2 separate regions of the Homo sapiens genome follow, and region 1 is linked to region 2. The links are contacts of gene promoters, found by promoter capture Hi-C in human tissues and cell types (Jung and others, 2019). All regions are on one chromosome and are shown on one strand. Each heading gives the region's core, a stretch centred on a gene start or on the middle of the fragment in contact. The rest is flanking DNA. Distances are from core to core; before and after follow the strand shown.

Region 1 (4,253 bases), core at 1,746-4,245, 100 kb before region 2:
GCTCCTTGGCGTTCTTCTTCAGCAAGACAAACTTCTCCAGCTGGGCACCAGGACTGGGCTGGGGCTGGACTGGGCTAGGCTGGGGCTGTGAGGGTCCCACCTGTTCTCACCCCCATGCTTCCCCGGCCCTTCCTCCCTGTGACCTTCTCCAGAGCTGCCACAGCTGGAACCATTCTCCAAGCTGCCTTTCATCCCCAGTGCTCCCCCGCCCCCCAGTGGCCCCTGTAATTGTGGTCTTAGGCGGCGGCTGCGGGGGCTGGGGCTGGGCTGAGGGCCAGGGCCCAGGGCAGGGCCAGGGTGGGGACTAGGGGGTGCTGATAGGGGCTTGGCCATGGTGTGGGTCATTTGGGGCTGGGACCCCAGGGGCAGACAGTCTCTGGGCCTCACCTACATACATGCCAAGGCTCTGGACCAACACAGACTCTCCCCTCCCTTCACTGAGAAGTGCTCTGACTTGGGCACTCCTAGACCCTCCTGACACCAGGGCAGAGCCACGCCTGAGTGCAAGCCTCAGTATCACTATTTGCCTCCGGAGGCTTTTTTGTTTTTTTTTAAGAAAGGGTTTTCTCGGTCTCCTTTGCACCTCTGTATTTCACAGACAGTGGAGGTGGGGAAGAAAAGAGACCCCCTCATCAGAGAGATGCCAAAGGAAACTAAATCAGCTCCTCAACCAGGTCAGCAGCGTTTCCCAAAAGGAGTCCCCACCAGAATCACTGGGGATGCTAGCTAGAAAGACAGACACCCAGGCCTTTCCCTGGAAAGGCTGATTCAACTTCATGGGGCCTGGAATCCGCATTCCCACAATGGCCCACCCCAGGGGACACTTGTGCTGCATCAAGCGTGGGAAATGCTAGTGTGAGCGCGTGATGGGGAATAAGGACATCTGTAAGCTGATTATGAGTCCCTTCCCTGTGTCACGTTCCTAATTCTTTCTGGGCCTCAGTTTCCCCAACAGCCAATAAGAATATGACTCTCCAGCTTGCTGGTGTCCTCTCTCATCCTGGGCTGGTGCCTGTCTCCTGTCTTGAGTCTGGTCCCACCCTTACCCTTACCGCTTACCCTTCCCAAATGCTAGTCCCAAGCTGTCCCCGTTTCTGCAGCATGGTAGGGAGAGTGGGGAGGGCAGGGGGCAGTTGGGGTCAAATAAGGCTCTAGCTGACGCAGTCTGCTTGCTGCCCCTGGCTGTTTTCCTGCAGTCCAGCCAGACTGCTCCCCCCCCACTGCCCCACCCCCACCCCCAGCAGCCTCAAGCCCTTAATTCCTGACAGCTGCGGTGGCTGCCGGCAGAGATGAGGGGGAAAGGAGGGGGGAGTATGCCGTCAGCCTGCTGTTGCTCAGGCCGCCCCCACCACCTGACAGTCTGGGGACAAGGAGGGCCCCACCCCCTCCTTCAGTTCCCCAGGGATGGGCAATTCCAGGAATGGGCCTTTTTTGTCTCTGAGCCCAGAGGCTCCCATAGTTTTGTTCCTAAGCCAGCAGGGGCTCTCTTCAGAGAGAGGGGCATGTTTGTGTAAAGGCTTGTGCCCATTTTACAGAGGAGGATGCCGAGGGCACAGGGCAGGAGCACGATCCACTATCAGGGCCCAGGCTAGCACCAGAAACAGACGGCAGAGCTGCCTTTCCCCTGCCCTCTGGCTCTCAGGCCCTTGCTTGGGCCCAGCACACTTGCACTATATCGAGGAGGGGCCCAGTGTTCAGTTGGGGTGGAGGGACAGGAAGATCTCAGCGAGAAGTAGACCTGAGCCAGGAGGCTGGTATTAGGGACCTCCTAGAGGACCATGTGCAGGTGGGGCCAGGGAGGGCCAGGACAAGACTGAGAGTATCTGCGGGCACAGGCAGGCAACACTCAGTGTTGGGGAGGCAGCTGCTGCGCTGGGAGTCAGGAGAGCTGCGTTCGGTTCTCGCTCTTCCGCTAATTTGCTGTGTGACCTCTTTGAGCCTCGATATTTTCTTGTGAAATAAAGGGGAGCTAAATAAACTATCTCAACGGCCACTTCTAGGGTTAAAAGTCTCTCTAACGCCTCCTCCCAGGACGTGCCACCCCGGGCGCTCCTACGCAAGCATTTTCTGGGGGCCTGACACTGCTGCCTCCCCGGGCTCACTGAGGAGACAAGGTGGTCCCCATGAGCCGCATTCCGCAAAGGGGCAGAGGAGGTCTCCGTGAGCAGGAGCAGGAGGCACCTGTTTAAGGTCACACAGCAAAGGGGAGAAGAAACCAGAGGCTGCCAAACTCCTCTGCAGGAGCCCACACCTGCCTCACACCAGGCAGGCCTGGGGGAAGTCCCTCCTCTGGCGGAGGAGGCGAAACACAGAGGCCAGCCCCTCCCCTCCAGCCCCTGCAGGTGTGTGTGTTGGGGTGGGATGGGGGCGCTCCCCAGCAGCTGCGTCTCTGCCAGGCACACACACCTCGCGGTAACACATATCCCCCACACAACCCAGCGCGCTCCACACACAGGCATCTTCCTGTGCACGCGCGCACAGACCCCAACACCTTTCCCTCTGTTGCCCTCAGCAGGGACGCTCCCACCCCCAGTCCCCAGCGGACGCAGTGGCCTCGGGACTCGTACACGCCTCCACGCCCCGCCGCGTGACGTCACGTGGGGTAGAGCCCTGAGACACTAAATGGCGGGGGGGTGGGGGGAGGAAAGGGAAGGCGGCAGAGCTCCCCGAGCCGGGACAGTCACTTACTCTACAGGCAGTGGGGCCCGACACAGACAGCGCCGCCCCCGCCAGCCAGCCTCGCACGCCCTCGGAAGCGCAGGCTCCCGGCGCTGCGCTGGAGGGTTCCCCGGCACCCCAGCCTCCCGTCCCCAGCCCGCTGCACCTCCGGGCCCCCCTTACCCTTGAGAGGCACCGGGAGTTGTCGCGGGGGGGCCTCGGGAAATTCCCCGGACCCCTGTGCCAGGAGGTGCCCGGTTCGCCCGCTCTTCACCCCCCGCCCCCCCCGAGGGCGGTGCCCGGGGGTGCTGCCCCATGGAGCGGGGAGGCGGGCGCCGTCTGCTCCGGGAGCCCTGACCCGAGTCGGAGCTGTGTGTCGCAGCCGCCCCGACCCCCCGCCGATCATGCGCCGGCGCCCCTGGCTCTCCAGTCCCACTGGGCTGTGAGCCCCCCACTCCCAGCCCGTCAGGGCCTGCGCGCCATGGGCAGCGCCCACCCTCGCCCCTGGCTGCGGCTCCGACCCCAGCCCCAGCCGCGGCCAGCGCTCTGGGTGCTCCTGTTCTTCCTACTGCTGCTGGCTGCTGCCATGCCCAGGTGAGCCCTCACCTCATGCTCCGCCCTCCTAGAGAGTTGGGACCCCGGCCTGCAGGGGCCTCTGATGCTCTTGCTGGGGTAGAGGACCCTGGAAGAAGGGAGGGACAGGGTCATAGGAAAGTGCTGGTGCCCAACCAAAGGCAGTGAGCTCCCTCATAGGAGGGGGTTGGACTGGTGACAGGATATGGGCAGTCCAGGGAGACAAGGCAGTGCCCAGGAGCATGATGGCAACTAGGAGGGGAGGTGTGTGTGGGGGGGGAGCAAGTGCCAGTCTGGAGTTCCTGCCCTGTTGGGGGAATGCACCCCCACCTCAGGAGTAAGCACAAGCTGCCTCACTCCTTCCTGCAGCTCAGCCCCAGGTAGGGGCAGGGGTTGGGAGGCTGGAAGGGGGTAGCCCAGGTGGGGTCAGTGAGAGACTGCAGCTGCAAGAGCTGTGTGTGTGTGTGTGTGTGTGTGTGTGTTTTCAATCGAGCCCAGGATCCCAGCAAACTGTGTTGGTAAACAGTAGTTTGTATGTGTGCCCATGTGTGCATGTGAGAGCTCATGGGTCAATGTATGTTAAGATGAACACATGTGTAAATGGGAGTGTCTTTGTGTGTGTGTCTGTAACTATGTCTGATGAAGTGTGCATGTGCGTAAGTGTGCTGGGGTTGGGTTTGTGTGTCCACCACAATGTGTGCAGAAGTGTGTCTATGTGAATGTGACTGAAACATATCTGTGGGAGTGGGCTTGTGGGGAACCCTGTGTGTATGGGCATCTATTCCTGGGGATGTGCATAGGAAATACTGTGGCCACAAGCATGGTGGATGTGTGTGCATTTGCACGCTTACCTGTGTGGGTGTGCAGCTAGCTGAGTGAGTTGCACTGGGCAGGATGATTGTGAGGAGGTCAAGGAGAGAGGAATGTGTAGGAGTGTACTGATGGGCCCAACCTTCAGAAGCAGAGGTTGGAAGAGGGAGTGATTATGGCCGTTGGGACAGAGTGTGTGTTGTTAGATGGGG
Region 2 (4,508 bases), core at 1,334-3,833:
AAGGCGAGCAAGGACAGATATCCGCCGCCACTCTCCATCTCAGCCGGGCGCCCTTATTTAGGGAAAAGACGCACAACCGTACAGGGCGGCCTTGGGCAGAATGATCGGACTGCCCCATCCCAGCTGGACCACATCCAGAGGTGGGAAGGGACAGGCGTGCAGCAGGACGACCCCAACCACTGCTGGACAAGGCCCAGCTAGTCCCGAGTCCCCAAAGACGTAGTTGGACAGGCTACTCCTGAGGTGGAGTGGTGGCTGGCTCCCTTGGGACACCACATCCGACAGGAGTAGGAACGAACAGTGGCCCCCTATACGTGACAGGAGGGGCAAGCTCTCATGGGCTCACTATCCTAGCCACCTTCGGGTGCGCAGGCCTCTGCGCTGGCCCTGAGAATTTGGCCTCTTATTTTCGGAACAGGCGGGATTCCCTGCCTACGAAGGTGCCATAGTTCTCGGGGCCTGATGAACAACTCTGAGGAGGGGAACGGACCGAGCAGCTGTTGTGCTTGGCTACCAACCTCCTCCTGTCTTTGTGTGATCTCCCTCCGAATTCGGTTGCTGGAGGCAGCAAGGAGGTTTTTCCAGGATATGCGAGTGGTTAGAGAGTGGGGTCCCAGAATTCCTGCTCCCCTGTCTTGGAGCCTCAAGCAGACAGGCAGAGAAAAATCCCGATACAATTACCCCCACTCCCTTTTAGAATAAAACGGATTTTCCTCAAAGTGGTCTGCTTACTGCCTCAAATATAGTCTTTTGAACCCCTCTTACTTTTTCAGCCACTGGCTTAGAATCCAGACGCTACCCTTCCCCATAATTTCAATCCCAATCCCTTCAAGCCAGCCCAGCAAAGAGCTTCCTGGTTTCTGGTCCCCAGAGTTAAGTTTTAGGGTCAGAAGCAAGGGAAGGTTTGGGTACAAAGGTGCACCTGGCACCAAAGGCGGAGCAACCTCAGCGGCTTGGATGACCGTTCCTGTTGGGCATAGTTTCCTTCTGGATAAAACAGTCGCCAACCTCGTTTTTGTGGTTTCTGTCTCTTGGTGAGATCTAGGGTAACGACTGAGATGGGGACTGTGGGGAGACGCTGCTTGAAGAGCCAGCCGTCAAAAGGGTAATTTAGCGACTACCCGTGGAGCGCTGGTGGTGAACCTGGGAATCAATTGCAATCGTCTGGCAGAGTTGGCCAGCAGAGATCAGCCGGCGTGAGTCAGCGCCGGAGGGTGAAGCAGGTGGCAGTAGCCAGGGTCTAGTGATTGGGAAGCCCGCTGTGTTTGGGGAGTAATTCCCCCGGTTCCATTGCCGGCTGGTGCTGCGGCCTTGAGCTCCTACTACCAGCAGGGAAAGGACGCTAAGTGTCCCAGCCCCTGCCCCAAAGCCTGGAAAACCATACACAGCAGCAAAAGGGCCTGGGGCTGGGATCCTCTCCATCTGCCTTGGCCTGCAACTCTTTTCCTGGTGCTCAGGAGATGCAGGAGCCAAAAACCAAGTGACTGTCTTCCCAAGGCCTCCGCACAACCAGGCCAGGACTCCGGGCTTCAGTGTGAACCCTGGGTCCACACTGCTCCCACCTACTGTCCGCCTGTGCCCTGACCCCAACCAACCTCGCCTCCGCCGCCCAGCGCGCCGGCCATCTCACCTTTCTGAACCGCGGGGCTCAGCGGCCCCCAGCTCGGGTTCTTCCCGTCCTTGAAGAGACCGTCTCCGACGGGATCTGCAAGCAGCAGAAGAAAAGAATCAGGAGAACCCCGGGCGGAAGTTGTGGGCTTGACAAAAGGGCCCCGGGCCAAGGCTTAAGGGGGGTGCTGTGGTCCCCAGGCGCGAGGCTGGGGGCCCGGGCCACCCGGCTCCTCCTCCCGGAGCCTGGTCCAGGCGCGCTGCGCGGAGCCCCTCCATAGAGCCCAAGTCAGGAAACGCGTCCAGGAAAAAGGAAATCCGCTTTCCGAAGGGGCCGGCTGGAGCCTTATAAAGCCGAGCGGGGAACTGCGCCAGCCGAGCTGGAGCGCGAAGAGAAGAGGAGGGTGCCTGGAGGGCCGGCCTGAAGCTCGTAGCAGGAAGGTGAGGAGCCGTGAGAGCGCAGGGGAGACGCCCGCGGACCACAGCCTTCTGGTACGGCTCGGCCACAGAGTACTCCACCACGCCAGAGACCCGTGCTTCCCCTCTCAGGCTCCTTCGGGTCCCTGAGTCCCGGCTCTTGGCCCCCAGGCTCCCAATCTGCTCATTTCAACTCCTCTAGACCCTGCACTGAAACCCAGAGCTCTCTATCTGCCTTTAGGTCTCCCCAGTGCCCTACATTACAATCGGCCCTCCATGCAACCCGAATCTCCGGACACTTCTCCTTCCCCTGGACCCCAGCACTCTCTTCCCATGCCTGAGCCTAGACTTCCCGCCCCAGGTTCCGGTGCCACCAGCCTCCGGCTGGTCCCTGGTACCTGGCAGGTACATGTTGATCAGCAGGGGCTGGGAGGCGCCGCTCTGTCTCATCGCCGCCGGGGACTGGGCGGTGGGAGATGGGGGGGACGGGGAAGGGGGGCGAGGCAGGCTTTGCGCTCGGTGGCACCGATCCCCGCCCGAAGCGACCGCGGGTGACAAGGAGGAGAAGACGGCGCCGGGTCCGGCAGGGCCTGGCGGGAGGGGGCAGCCCGGGCGTGGCGGGGGTTGCGGGGGGGTCCTGGAGAAACGCTTCCAGCTAAGGGGCCGCTTGGAACCCTCCGGCCCCCGCGCGGCCCGGGGCCGCAATTTCCGTTTTAATTAAAGCGCTGCCGCCTCGGCCCCCAGGACCCCGCCCCCGCCCCTCTTATCGTCCCATCGCAATAAAGTCTCCAACGCGCCGCGCCACAGCCAAGCGCACCCGGCAGCCCCCCGCGCCCCGCAGCCGGGGAGACGCGCGGGGGATGGGCCCGGGCCATGTGCCCTGATGGGAGCCTAGAGCGCGTGTCTTTTCCGCCTCCCTGACTCTCTGCAAACAGTGATGGGGCTGGTGTACCCGGCCCCACCTCGGACCCCAGCAGCCACAGCCCCCTCCCTAGAGCCCTTCTTCCAGTCGGCTCCCGCTCCACTCGCCGCTCACTCTCCTCCCCCTCCCTCCCTCTATCCCCACCCGGGTTCCCGTCTCCAGGCTGCGTTATCTGCATCTTCACTTTTAAATTTCCGCTTCCCTCCCTCTCGCCTGTCGCTGCGCGCCCGGCCCTGCAGCCGTTGCTCCCTTTATCTCTGCCCGCATCCCCGCTCCCTCCTCCTCTTCTCCCACTCTCTGCTCTTCCCTAGAGACCCGAACCCCTTCCCCGTCTCCTTCTTGCTTTGGCCCGTTTCCTGCCTTTCTGGGGCCCCCAAGCCTCAGGCCTGGTGCTGGGCCATCTCTCCTGGCAACTTATGATGGGTGGCCCCCTCTTCTGTCCTCCCCGCCCCCTTCTAGGTCTCTCTTTACCTCCTAGGCTTTTCTCTCCGACTCTCATCTCCCCTCCAGCCTTCTCTCTCCCTCTCATCCTTCTCCCTCCCCTCCTTTTCTCATTCATTCAGTCCCCATAAATTAGTAGTGGCTTGGACTGCTGAAGGCCTCTAAAGATGTTGAGAATCTGTCCTGGCTTTCCCTGATGGGTTCCTGAGCCCCCTGCTACTTCCCTGTACAACTATTCTGCTCCCATCCTTCCCCATCCCCTGTCCTCCCAGTCTGCCACCCACCCTCACCACTACTCCCATTCTGGCTATCCCTGAACGAGGCTGGAGAGGTGGAGGGGTTAAGACAGGGTTGTGCACTGTACAAGGCTGGAATCCACTCCAAGAAAAGGATTCCTATTTCTAACTCATGCAAAGATGTTGATGTGGTTCCCAAGTGGCCTGGAGTCTCTCTGGGTACCTATGGGGCTTCGTGGCTCTGGAGAGGCAGGCTAAGGAGGATGCTGGCTGAAGATGAGGCTCCAGCCCAGAAGCCCACCTTCTGCAGCCTTGCAGTATGGAACGGGTACTGTCAAAACTGGCATTCTCAAAGTCCTCTCTCACTGCTTGAGCCCAGGGGTGGAGGAGGCCTGGGAATGGGCAGGTCTCCTGCTAAGTGCCTGGTCCTGGGATGCCTGATTGAGGATGGCTGGAAACTCCTACTTCTGGGGTTCTACAGGGCCCATGTTCACCCTCATTTGCTGCAACTTCTGGAGTGTTCATCTTTGCTCGTGGAGGGTGCAAAGGAGCCAGGGAGAAGAGTGGGAGGCAGAGTGTGGAGGGAAAAAGAGGGATCCCAGGGCCTGGGAGGATCCTAGTGGGACAGGGATGAAGCCTTCAGGATGTGGACCTGGAATCTGGTGGGAGCAAAGACTAGAGGTTGGAATGTTCCCTGTGGACCAAACTCAGGGCTCCACAGAAGGTGAGGGCCTTGAAGTTGGGGTCAAGATCCCAATCCCTCTCCTTCTCATTCCTCTTTCTGCTTCCCCCACCCACTATGGACAGAAAACAAGGAGCAGGAGGTAAGAACAGAAAATAGCCAGGGGCAGGAGGTAAGAGCTGGGAAAGCTGGGAGGCATCAA

The links. Contacts are between HindIII fragments. The study calls those that stand out against the background at their distance.
Region 1: the fragment with the promoter of WNT10A here is called in contact with the fragment with the promoter of FEV in region 2 in 1 of the 25 tissues and cell types used here (H1 embryonic stem cells).

The regions. Positions count from the first base shown.
Region 1 is chr2:218,877,857-218,882,109 of GRCh38, forward strand. It overlaps WNT10A (Wnt family member 10A), which reads left to right and starts at 2,996. Exons shown (of 4, transcript NM_025216.3): 1 at 2,996-3,252. The coding sequence starts at 3,140. RefSeq lists silencers at 2,422-2,481, 2,702-2,911, 2,932-3,071. The HindIII fragment of the contact is 13,021 bases long and covers 1-4,253 here.
Region 2 is chr2:218,982,601-218,987,108 of GRCh38, forward strand. FEV (FEV transcription factor, ETS family member) reads right to left here and starts at 2,584. Exons shown (of 3, transcript NM_017521.3): 1 at 2,424-2,584; 2 at 1,631-1,705. The coding sequence starts at 2,475. The HindIII fragment of the contact is 32,237 bases long and covers 1-4,508 here.